Linked DNA regions of Homo sapiens: all the other regions are linked to region 2. Evidence: promoter capture Hi-C in 16 types of primary human blood cells and fetal thymus (Javierre and others, 2016). All regions are on one chromosome and are shown on one strand. Each heading gives the region's core, a stretch centred on a gene start or on the middle of the fragment in contact. The rest is flanking DNA. Distances are from core to core; before and after follow the strand shown.

Region 1 (2,700 bases), core at 172-2,671, 650 kb after region 2:
CTATTATGTGTTAAGAATAGTGAGAAAATGGGGGCCAAGTGCAGTGGCTCACACCTGTATTCCCAGCACTGGGAGGCCGAGGCAGGTAAATCACTTGAGCTCAGGAGTTCGAGACCAGGCTGACCAACATGGTGAAACCCCGTCTCTACTAAAAATACAAAATTAGCTGGGCGGGGTGGCGCGTGCCTGTAATCCCAGCTACTCAGGAGGCTGAGGCAGGAGAATCGCTTGAACCTGGAAGGCGGAGGTGCGGTGAGCTGAGATGTTGCCATTGCACTCCAGCCTATGCAACAAGAGTGAAACTCCGTCTAAAAAAAAAAAAGAATAGGGAGAAAATGATGAATATGTATCCATTCTCCAGAGAGTATGTCATGAATCTCCACCTATAAGGGGCACAGTTTTTACCCTTTATTTCCTTCAAAGCTCTTGCGTGGAGACTATGTATTCACCAGAGATTTTTCTATAGTAAAATTTTTAAAAATCCAGAGCATGGTGTGATGGTGCACACCTGTAATCTCAGCTAGTGGGGAGGCTGAGATGGGAAGATTGCTTTGAGCCCAGAAGTTCAAGGCCAGCCTGGGCAACATAGCAAGATCCTGTCTTTTTTTTTTTTTTTTTTCAAAAAAAAAATCCAACTAATGGAAGCTGTCAACCAAAATCATTTCCCCTGTCCCATTAATATTGATGAGAATAAGTTAAAAGAAAATAAGTCACAGTAGTTTGATTTAATGAAAAAATTCCAGGAAATAGTTCCACAGTCTCCTAGGTCTCCCAGAGGAGGTCCAAGTCCTTCACTCTCTAAAGTTAAATGTGTTGCTTTGTAAAATAAGAACTGATATTCATTGAGTATGTCACTGAAAGGTCTGCAATTATCAGTAAAAAATTCAATTGTGTTCAGTATATTTCACCTACTGGGTAGAATGTGGATATTAATACATTTTTAGAAAGCTTTCCAATTATCTCTTGCTTAAAACCCTTTAGAGATTTCTCTAGGCACATTCTGAATATAAACACCGCAGCAAAACGTACAAGTCTCTTTATAATCTGACTATAGGCTTCTTCTCAAATTTCTTCCCTGACCACTCCCTCGTTTGACACTGGAAGTGTCTGCTCTCTCAATATCAACTATCATGTTCTTTCAAGCTTCAATGCCATTCCCTTTGTGTAGAATAGCTTTCCCCTCTTTGCTCATCTGAAGGACACTTCAATCCATCCATCAAACTGATGGCCCAATAGAAGCATTGCCCTCTTTATGCAGTCTTCTCTAGTTGCACTCCCTTCCTTGACTTAATTATTCTTTGTGCTACTTTTCTACTACATATATACTATTTTGTTATAGGTATCACTTTGAATACAGAACTTAAATGTTTCTTTTCCTGTCTCTTGTACTAGTCTGGTTTGTTCTCACAGAGCAAAGCCAGGATTATGTATCATCGCATGGGCATCATTTAGTATGATGACTGGCATAAGTGAGGCTTTCAGTACAGCATGTCAAATTGAGCTGAATGAGCACAGCTGAAACCAAAAAGTTAACCTACAATGTGAAAATCTAATTAACCACAAGACCATTCTAGGAGCATTCTAATTACTTGATATTTTATTGCAAATCTATCTTATCAATTAGTAAAAGATCACTGGTTCTCAGACTTTTTTATTTCATGAACTGGTAAAATTTCCAAGGAATTTTTAGGAACTGACATAAGCTTATCAACTTTTTAATTTTTCCGTGTAAGGTACAAAAATAAATATAAATAAAACTTCTATCTATTCTCATTATTTCATAAAATAAGAATATTTTAAAGCCAGACCAGGTGTGGGGGCTCATGCTTGTAATCCCAACACTTTGGAAGGCCAAGGACAGGCAGATCACTTTAGCCAGGAGTTCAAGATCAGCCTGGGCAAAATAGCAAGACCCTATCTCTGCAAAAAAACAATAATCAAAAAATTAGCTTGGTGTGGTGGTGCATGACTGTAGTCCCAGTTACTCAGGAGGCCAGGGCAGGAAGATTGCTTAAGCCTAGGAGTTCAAGGTTACAGTGAACTATCATTGAACCATTGCACTCTAGCCTGGGTGGCAGAGTGCAACCTTGTCTTAAGGCAAAAAAAAAACTTGGAAGGCTGAGTGGGAGAATTGCTTGAGCCCAGAGGTTGAGGCTACACTAAGCAGAGATCAAACCACTGTACTCCAGCCTGGGCAACAGAGGAAGACCCTGTCTCTAAAAAAAATTAAAAAATTAAAATGGGGAAGATTGTAACATCAGAATGAAAGTTATTGAATTAAATAAACTTAACATTATGAAAACTTGCACAGACCTCTAGTTGTGTCTAGAATACTCTTTGCACTTTACCGGTACTTGATCAGGTGCTTCTTTGCAACTTTTTTTTTTTTTTTTTTTTTTTTTGAGACAGAGTCTTGCTCTGTCGCCCAGGCTGAAATGCAGTGGTGAGATCTCGGCTCACCGCAACCTCTGGTTCCCGGGTTCAAGAGATTCTCCTGCCTCAGCATCTTGAGAAGCTGGGACTACAGGGTTGCACCACCATGCCCGGCTAATTTTGGTATTTTTAGTAGAGGCGGGGTTTCACCATGTTGGTCAGGCTGGTCTCAAACTCCTGACCTCAAGTGATCCACCCACCTCGGTCTCCCAAAACACTGGGATTGCAGGCATGAGCCAGCCTCTTTGCATCTACTTTAAAGGATGG
Region 2 (2,700 bases), core at 179-2,678:
TGTAGTCCCAGCTACTCGGGAGGCTGAGGCAGGAGAACCACTTGAACCCAGGAGGTGGAGGTTGCAGTGAGCTGAGATCGTGCCACTGCACTCCAGCCTGGGTGACAGAGCAAGACTCTGTCTAAAAAAAAAAAAAAAGTCTCATACTTAAATCCTGCGTCTGACAACCATATGAGTTTCTGGCAAGATTTAAACTTTCAAAGGCACAATTTTCTTATTGGCTAGATAAGAATAACAATTTTCACCTTGCCAGTTTGTAGTGAAGATTTCAGATAATGAATATAAAGGAACTGGTATAGACCATGGCCCATAGTAGGTGCTCAATAAATACCTTTATAAAGAAACAAACACATTGCAATTCTGATATGACGGCTGCCTTCTTATTTAGAAGACTATTCTGCTTGGTTTTTTTTTTTATTCTAATTTCTTTGGATTTATAAGCATCCCCCACAGCTCTTTCAAACCAAGGATCTTCACAGATAACAGTGTCTAGGGAATCTTTCTCTGTTCTCCTAAAACAAGCACTTATTTTTAATGATGGTCTTATATTCTATAAAAATATTAAAATAACATCTTCATATGTAGTATTATATATGAGGGAAAGAGACATTTGAGCCAGTGTTCACACTTGACCATGTTCACACTTTTAACCAGGTAGAGACTCGTGACTTTGACTCTTATTTTGGCCTTTACTCAGGCTCTGACTGCAGATAAGAATCAGTTTTGCCTAAATTTCAATTGCTTGGGAAAGGTCCTCGATAACGGAAGTCTACATAGAATTGTGAATAAATACCCCTGTGAAAATAAAGGTTAAGTCTATATGTTTACTTGATAAAGCAGATAATTTCAGAGTATAAACACAGTTGTGTTTTGACTTCTCTTCCTTTTGCCTTAAATATAGATATTTATTTGTGTGTGTGTGTATGTGTGTGTATTTATATATATATAAAGTTGCCCACTGTGATCCACCACTGCTGGAGCAAATCCAGAACTAGAACTTGGTCTCCTGGCCTTCAGCCCAGAGCTCATTACAGTCTCATTCTAAAAACAAGTACTTCATACTGATTGCATTTCTACACACACATATGCAGATTTCTGGACACTCTTTCTGTTTTTCTTTCATTTATGTTCTCAATGCTGAACCTTTATTAGAATTACATCATCACTGTGGTTCTTTAAATAAGAAACAAAACTCTGTCACAACATCTGAGGAAATTATCTTTTAATGTCCCCAAGCTCTATGCCTTGGAAAAAAAAAACTTCCTCTGCTGTTCAAGAATAACAGGCCCCAGAACAAGCCCCAAAAATAAATGACAAAGCCCATCTTACTCACAGGAGGAAAGGATCATGGTAGCCCCTTCTGCGGGGAGCACACAACAGTCTTCAGTTCTTCTGCGGTGCTCTACTCACAAAAACACATCTTTCAACTGAAATCATAGTTCGCTCAAGATGTTTCTCACGGGCAGAGTTAACCCCACCTATTTTCCTGTTCTGAAAACCTCAGAAGAGTATAAATGACAACCAATGGCATATATAAGAAAGCTCAGTAATCTCCATCCCAATCTCTGAGGGTATCTGCTATTAGTCTCTCATCCCCAAAGGTGTGGGTGACTCGCAAACATCATTTTCAAGAAATCACAAAATTTTGGTAAAAGGCACCTTTAAAATTATCAAATCAAACTGCCCTCTCTGGACTGGGAAGGAAATGAAGGCACAGACAGAATAAGGGACTTGCCCAAGGCCACACCGTGAGTGGCAGAAACAATTAGATTCTAGGCTCTGGAATATTGAGTTTAGAATGTTCCATCCTCCCACTCAGCAGACACTTTATTTGGGGGAAGTCAATCTAGTAATAACCCTAAAATGTGATTGGGGGATGGCTGAGAAATATAAAAACACCAACAATACAAAACACACTTGGGAGTTTCACTTCATCCCACTGGAAAGCATAACCATGTGTCAACTAATTAACAGAGCAACTTTAATGAAGACACAGCATATTCTAATCGCCCTTCCAATTTCCTGGTTTAGATTAAGGTCTCCTTAGCATTCTGGGTGATGACTGTTATTTTTACTTCACCTTTTGCCTTTGTTATGCTTTCGTATAAAACTTTTTTTCTAAGTCTTAGTGAAAAATATTTAAAGATTTTTGAAGGAAATGTTGACAAATGTTGCCAGGTGCTATCTATCTTGTTTTCCCATAAAAAGCATACACTGACCATTAGGACAGGGACTCTATCTTCTCCTCACTCTCTTTCATACCACCTAGTACTTCCCGTAGCTCCTCAAGGTGAAAAGGGAAGTATGGGATGGGAGGAGGGAAGGTCAGGAAGGAAGGAGAAAAGGCTGACAGTGATAGTAAGGTAGAGTGTGCCAGGACCGACTCCTTCAATGAGCTACAAGTCAGTTAAAAGTTGTGCATGGTTAGCAACCAAAATGCCCATCAATGATAGGCTGGATAAAGAAAATGTGGTACATATACACCGTGGAATATTATGCAGCTATACAGAATGAAATCATGTCCTTTGCAGGGACATGGATGGAACTGGAAGCCGTTATCCTTAGCAAAGTAATGCAGGAACAGAAAACCAAACACCACATGTTCTCACTTATAAGTGGGAACTGAACCATGAAACACATGGACACAGGGAGGGGAACAACACATACTGGGGCCTGTTGGGGAGGGCAGATGAGGGGAGA
Region 3 (2,700 bases), core at 124-2,623, 710 kb after region 2:
TCTTATTTCTAGGTGCTTAAAATCGTGACCCTATGCACTGACCTAAAATCACTATGTCTGTGCCCAAACACACAGGTAGTGAAGACCCTGTGCATATAGGGTCAGTTTATTGCATATTCATGTTAAAATAGTTCTCAAACTCCAGAATTACTAAAAAGATGTATCAGTTCATATTTGTATCAGCTGGAGTCTATGAATAATATTTCATATATGTGTACTACTAGTTTTCAAATGATACAGTATAAGAGTGATAAGAGTATGGGCCAGGCATGGTGGCTCACACCTGTAATCCCAGCATTTTGAGAGGCCGAGGTGGGTGGATCACTTGAGGTCAAGAGTTCAAGACCAGCCTGGCTAACATGGTGAAACCCTGTCTCTACTAAAAATACAAAAATTAGCCAGGTGTGGTGGCACATGCCTGTAGTCCCAGCTTCTTGGGAGGCTGAGGCAGGAGAATGGCTTGAACTCGGGAGGCAGAGGTTGCATTGAGTCAGGATTGTGACATTGCACTCCAGCCTGGGTGACAAAGCGAGACTTCATCTCAAAAAAAAAAAAAAAAGAGTATGGACTCTGAGGCCTGATTGGCTGGATTCAAATCCCAGCTCCACACACAGTAGCTGTGAGATTTTGGACAAGTTCCTGAGGTCTGTGCTATACTTTTCTTATCTATAAAATGGGGATAACTGCCTAGCTCATGAAATTATTATAGGGATTAATGCAATTTAATTAAGTGTTGGCTATCTTTATTAAATAGCTATTAGTGTTATTATGATTAATGAAATAAAAATTTTTATTGACTACAGTTAGGAATATAGAGTAGCTTTTTGTTACTGTGAGGGGAGAAGAGTTCAAATAATTGTAGGGATTCTTGTATATATTGAATATAGTTTGGGACTGTGGTAATAATGTGCACTAGGTTTTGGTCAGCAGTATTACTGATTTGCCTATAGAGACAGATTATTTAACAAAATAGATATTACATACTGTAGTGGAAAAGGCCACTGACTAGGGAGTCAGGAGACTTGGGTTCTGATCTCAGCATTACCACAAACTAACCAGCTGTGTTGCTTTGAGCAAATGACTTGTCTTTTCTGGATATTAGTGTACTCAGATTGGAATGAGGACTAGATAATCTCTGAAGCCTCTTTCAGTCTTACCATTGTCTTTTTCTGTGACATAAAGTAGAATACCTGAGTTGGAATGAGACCTTAGGTCTAATCCATTATTCCTTTATAGCATGAGAAGAAGCTATGCAAAGACATTGTGGTGAATGGCAGAACTAGTACTAGAATCTCCTCGAACAGACTATTACTCTGCATTAAATGGGGAAAGCATTATCCATTGTAGAAATGGCCAGCTAACTCATTGCCTTTTATTCTTATATGATTCTTCAGTGCTTCATGTTGCAATCCTTGAGTCAAGCTGGAGAAAAATGATTGCAAATTGTACTGGTGCTGTAATTAAAAGGGATTTGTCCTTTGCAAAACCTTAAATGATAAATGATAATGCATGAAGGCATTCTAACTAGCCAACATTAAAGAAACCATATTTCCAGCAAAGGTAAAATCTGTTAGTAAGTAGGATAGCATGAATTCAGACCTTAGCGTTTGTGCAATTTGTGTGTGATGGCAAAGTTAATGCCCTATTCCAAAGTGATGGATTTTAATCATGAAATCTGTAATAATTCAAATGTCTTAATTACTTTGGTTCTTAAATTGTCCATATATGGTTTAGACCAGAGTTGAACAAACTAGCCCATGGACCAAATCTGTTTTTGTATGCATGAGCTAAGAATTGTTTTTACATTTTTAAATGGTTAAGAGGCTGGGTGCAGTGGCTCACGCCTGTAATCCCAGCACTTTGGGAGGCTGAGGTGGGCTGATTACTTGAACCAAGGAGATCGAGACCAGCCTGGGCAACTTGGCGAAACCTCATCTCTACAAAAAAAAAAAAAAAAAAGAAAAAAGACAAAAAATTAGCCAGGCATGGCGGTGCATGCCTGTAGTCCCAACCACTTGGGAGGCTGAAGCAGGAGGATCATCTGAGCCGGCAGGTTGAGGCTGCAGTGAGATGAGATTGTACCACTGCATTCCAGCCTTGGTGATAGAGTGAGACTTTGTCTAAAAACATAAAATAAGATAAAATGGTTAAGAAATCAAAGGAAAAGAATATTTCATTACGTGTGAAATTACATGAAATTCATATGTTTGCATCTAAAAATAAAGTTTTGTTGGAACACAGCTACGTTCATGTGTTTTTGGATTGTCTTTCGGTGCTTTTGCTTTAAAACGGCAATTGAGTAACTGGGACAGAGATTGGCCCACAAAACCCAAAATATTTACCATCTGGCTCTTCATAGAACGTGTTTGCCAACCTCAGGTCTGGAACAGCACTGTCCAGTGTGGCAGCCAGTAGTCACATGTAGCAATTTAACTTTAAAATAACTTGCAGTGAAAGGATATAAAGCAAAATCATAAAAGGAAAGGGAGCATGGGGTGAAGTCCGGCGGAAACCAGGTCCCAAGAGTTCTCTTCCCAGGGAGTGTAAATTTCTCCAACAGCTAGTCATAACAATGTGTGAAGTTGTATCTACCCGGGGAACTCATTAGAGACTCAGTGCCCACAGTTTTTATTGGGGGCTGGTCACTTATTCACCCTCTGCCTAACAGGTACCAAAATTCCAGACTCCTAGAATGAAAGC
Region 4 (2,700 bases), core at 29-2,528, 820 kb after region 2:
AACAAGTATAATTAAACATCATTAATGTAAAACTATTCAAAATAATACACGAACGTAAATAAAGGCTATTTTCTAGCTAACTAAATCACCAACTGTTTTCTGACACAGATATTCAAAAATACGAACACAGTGAATTTAAAGCCTATCTTCTCTAGAAGAAAAGTCAAATTAATAAGGTTTTATTGTTATCAAGGTGTCAGAGGCATGTGAACCAGAGCAACTCTGTCTTAAATAGGAGCTGGGTAAGATGAGGCTGAAACCTACTGGGCTGCATTCCCAGGTGGTTAAGGCATTCTAAGTCACAGGATGAGATAGGAGGTCAGCACAAAATACAAAACCTGATAAAACAGCACAAAACATAAAACCTGATAAAACAGCTTGCAGTAAAGGAGACAGCCAAAACCCACCAAAACCAAAATGGTGACGAGGGTGACTTCTGGTCATCCTCACTGCTACACTCCCACCAGCGCCATGACAGTTCACAAATGCTACAGCAACGTCAGGAAGTTACCCTATATGATCTCAAAAGGGGAGACATGAATAATCCACCCCTTGTTTAGCGTATCATCAAGAAATAACCGTAAAAATGGGCAACCAGCTGCCCTTGGGGTTGCTCTGTCTATGGAGTAGCCATTCTTTTATTCCTTTACTTTCTTATAAACTAGCTTTCACTTTGCACTGAGGACTTACCCTGAATTCTTTCTTGCATGAGATCCAAGAACTCTCTCTTGGGGTCTGGATCTGGACCCCTTTCCTGTAACAAAGGCAGGAAGTTATTTAGCAAAATATGAAAGGCAATTTGAAAATGTCTGGGACACTTAAACACAAAACATATTTATAATTAATTTCCAGAGAATCATGCTGGGTCAGAAAGTCTTGGTAACAATAGATAACACTGTATTTTTTTCCTCTTCAGTGTATTTATGTGCATATTTAGATGTGTAAGATGCAAAGATATATAAGAGACTACTGTTACTTTTTTACTTTTACTACTTTTACTTGCAAAGAGCCTATAGGAGGAAACAGATACATCAGAAAGGTAACAAAATACACTACGTGATACTGGTTCCAACTACTGAGGAGAGTGTGTGGAGCCTTGACTTGAGGGCTGGGAGAAGCTTCACCAATGTCACAAATAACTTTTGAACTTGGCTTTGAAGTGGGCTTCTTCTGCTCAGATAAGAAAGAATTACATTGACAAAGGTGAGGAGGAAGTAGACATAGAGAAAATTAGCTAATATTTAAAGAGTTCTAAACACCCTATTTGGTACGCAGTAGATACTCTGTAAATATTTATTCAGTGAATAAGCATCCTTGTTAGAAAAATGTCATTGTAGCCATTTTGCAGATGAAGAAATGGAGGCACAGACAGATTGTTCTAAAGTCACGTAGCTAGAAGTTGTGGAATTAGATATTGACTCCTAAGTTGCCTGCCTAACAAGCTTTATGTTCTTTCCCTTGTCCAGATGTGTGGCGAAAGTGCTCACATGTGGTATAAAGTATCAGATGCCTAGGTGAGGGAGTGGAGGGGGGTGTTATGGCCAGAGGTGAACTTAGAAACACAAGTCAGAATGGACTATAGCAGTCCTTAAGATGACATTCTAGGGAACATGGAAGGTCATTTAAGGAAGCTACCAAAGATCTTAAAGTAGGGGAATGATGTCATCAGTCTGTCTTTCAGGAAGATCAGTGTAATAGGATGGAACTTGCAGGCAGGGGTGGGTGCGGGAGTGATGAGTGTAGGCTGATGGGCAAGTTAGGAAACGCTATTGCTCAGAGCTAATATGGATGAATAGGAGACTGAGCCAGGATAGTGGCAGTGGAAATGGAGAAGAAGAGGCATAAGGACTGAAAACATATTAGAGGAAGAGTCACCACCACTCATTGACCAAATGGATTTGAGGGAAGGGAAGGGAAGGGAAGGGGTGCAAGATGGTGCTGGGATTGCCAGCCTTGGTGAATGACGATGCCCTTAGCTGAAACAAAGGATGGAAGAAAATGCAGTCAGTGGGCAGAAGACAATGTTTTGGACATTTTGAGTGAGACATCCAAAGTGAGATGTATAATGGACAGGGGGAGATATAAGATAAAAACATAGAAGAGCAACTGGAATAAGAGAATGTTGGGAATCATCAGCCTCTAAGGGACAGCTGAGGCCGGAAGGATGAGAGGACCAGGGAAAGGTGTAGGAGAGAAGAGAATGGGGTGGGAAAAGGAGGGGAGGGAGGGGAAGGCATGGGTAGAGGAAAAAGAATCAGCAAATGAGACAAAGGAAGAAAAGGACAGAGATGTAGGAGGAGAGCCAGAGGGAGAAGGGTCATGGATGCCAAGGGAAGGGCCTAGAAGAGGTGAGTTTGGCTGACTGGAGGTTGTTGGTGGCCTCACTGAGATCACCTTCCCAGGAGTAGAAGGGGCAGAAGCAGGGTTGAGGGCTGAAGAGAGAGTGGATGATTCAGTGGTAAGGAAAGTGAGTTCAGTCTATTCTTTCAAAGAATTTAAGAGCCAGAAAAGTAGAGGCTCTGGATAACCTGAGAGGCAAGTGGAATAAGACATCTTTGTGAGAATCCATGTGGAGTTGTAAAGCTGGCAGGTGCCTTGGTCAGTCACTACAAGAGAAAAGTGAGTGAAGCTGAGTTCTTTCTCCTCCAGTCTTGTACAATGAATGCAGTTGTCTTAGCATGAAGGAATCAAACTTAATAG

What was found. The method cuts DNA at HindIII sites, captures the fragments that hold promoters and counts their contacts. A CHiCAGO score of 5 or more calls a contact.
Region 1: a contact is called between a fragment that was not itself captured here and the fragment with the promoter of TXK in region 2, in 2 of 17 cell types (non-activated CD4 T cells and activated CD4 T cells). The highest score is 6.9, in non-activated CD4 T cells.
Region 3: a contact is called between a fragment that was not itself captured here and the fragment with the promoter of TXK in region 2, in 1 of 17 cell types (non-activated CD4 T cells). The highest score is 7.2, in non-activated CD4 T cells.
Region 4: a fragment that was not itself captured here is called in contact with the fragment with the promoter of TXK in region 2 in 1 of 17 cell types (erythroblasts); the score reaches 5.6 in erythroblasts.

What each region holds. Positions count from the first base shown.
Region 1 is chr4:48,783,472-48,786,171 of GRCh38, forward strand. No RefSeq gene overlaps it. Among named protein-coding and RNA genes, the nearest start is that of FRYL, 4.5 kb to the left of the region's middle. The HindIII fragment of the contact is 560 bases long and covers 1,142-1,701 here.
Region 2 is chr4:48,132,822-48,135,521 of GRCh38, forward strand. It overlaps TXK (TXK tyrosine kinase), which reads right to left and starts at 1,429. Exons shown (of 15, transcript NM_003328.3): 1 at 1,334-1,429. The coding sequence starts at 1,349. RefSeq lists a silencer at 871-1,165. The HindIII fragment of the contact is 7,086 bases long and covers 1-2,700 here.
Region 3 is chr4:48,838,893-48,841,592 of GRCh38, forward strand. All of the region lies in intron 3 of OCIAD1 (OCIA domain containing 1), which reads left to right. Among named protein-coding and RNA genes, the nearest start is that of OCIAD1, 9.2 kb to the left of the region's middle. The HindIII fragment of the contact is 3,511 bases long and covers 1-2,700 here.
Region 4 is chr4:48,957,095-48,959,794 of GRCh38, forward strand. No RefSeq gene overlaps it. Among named protein-coding and RNA genes, the nearest start is that of CWH43, 28 kb to the right of the region's middle. The HindIII fragment of the contact is 324 bases long and covers 1,117-1,440 here.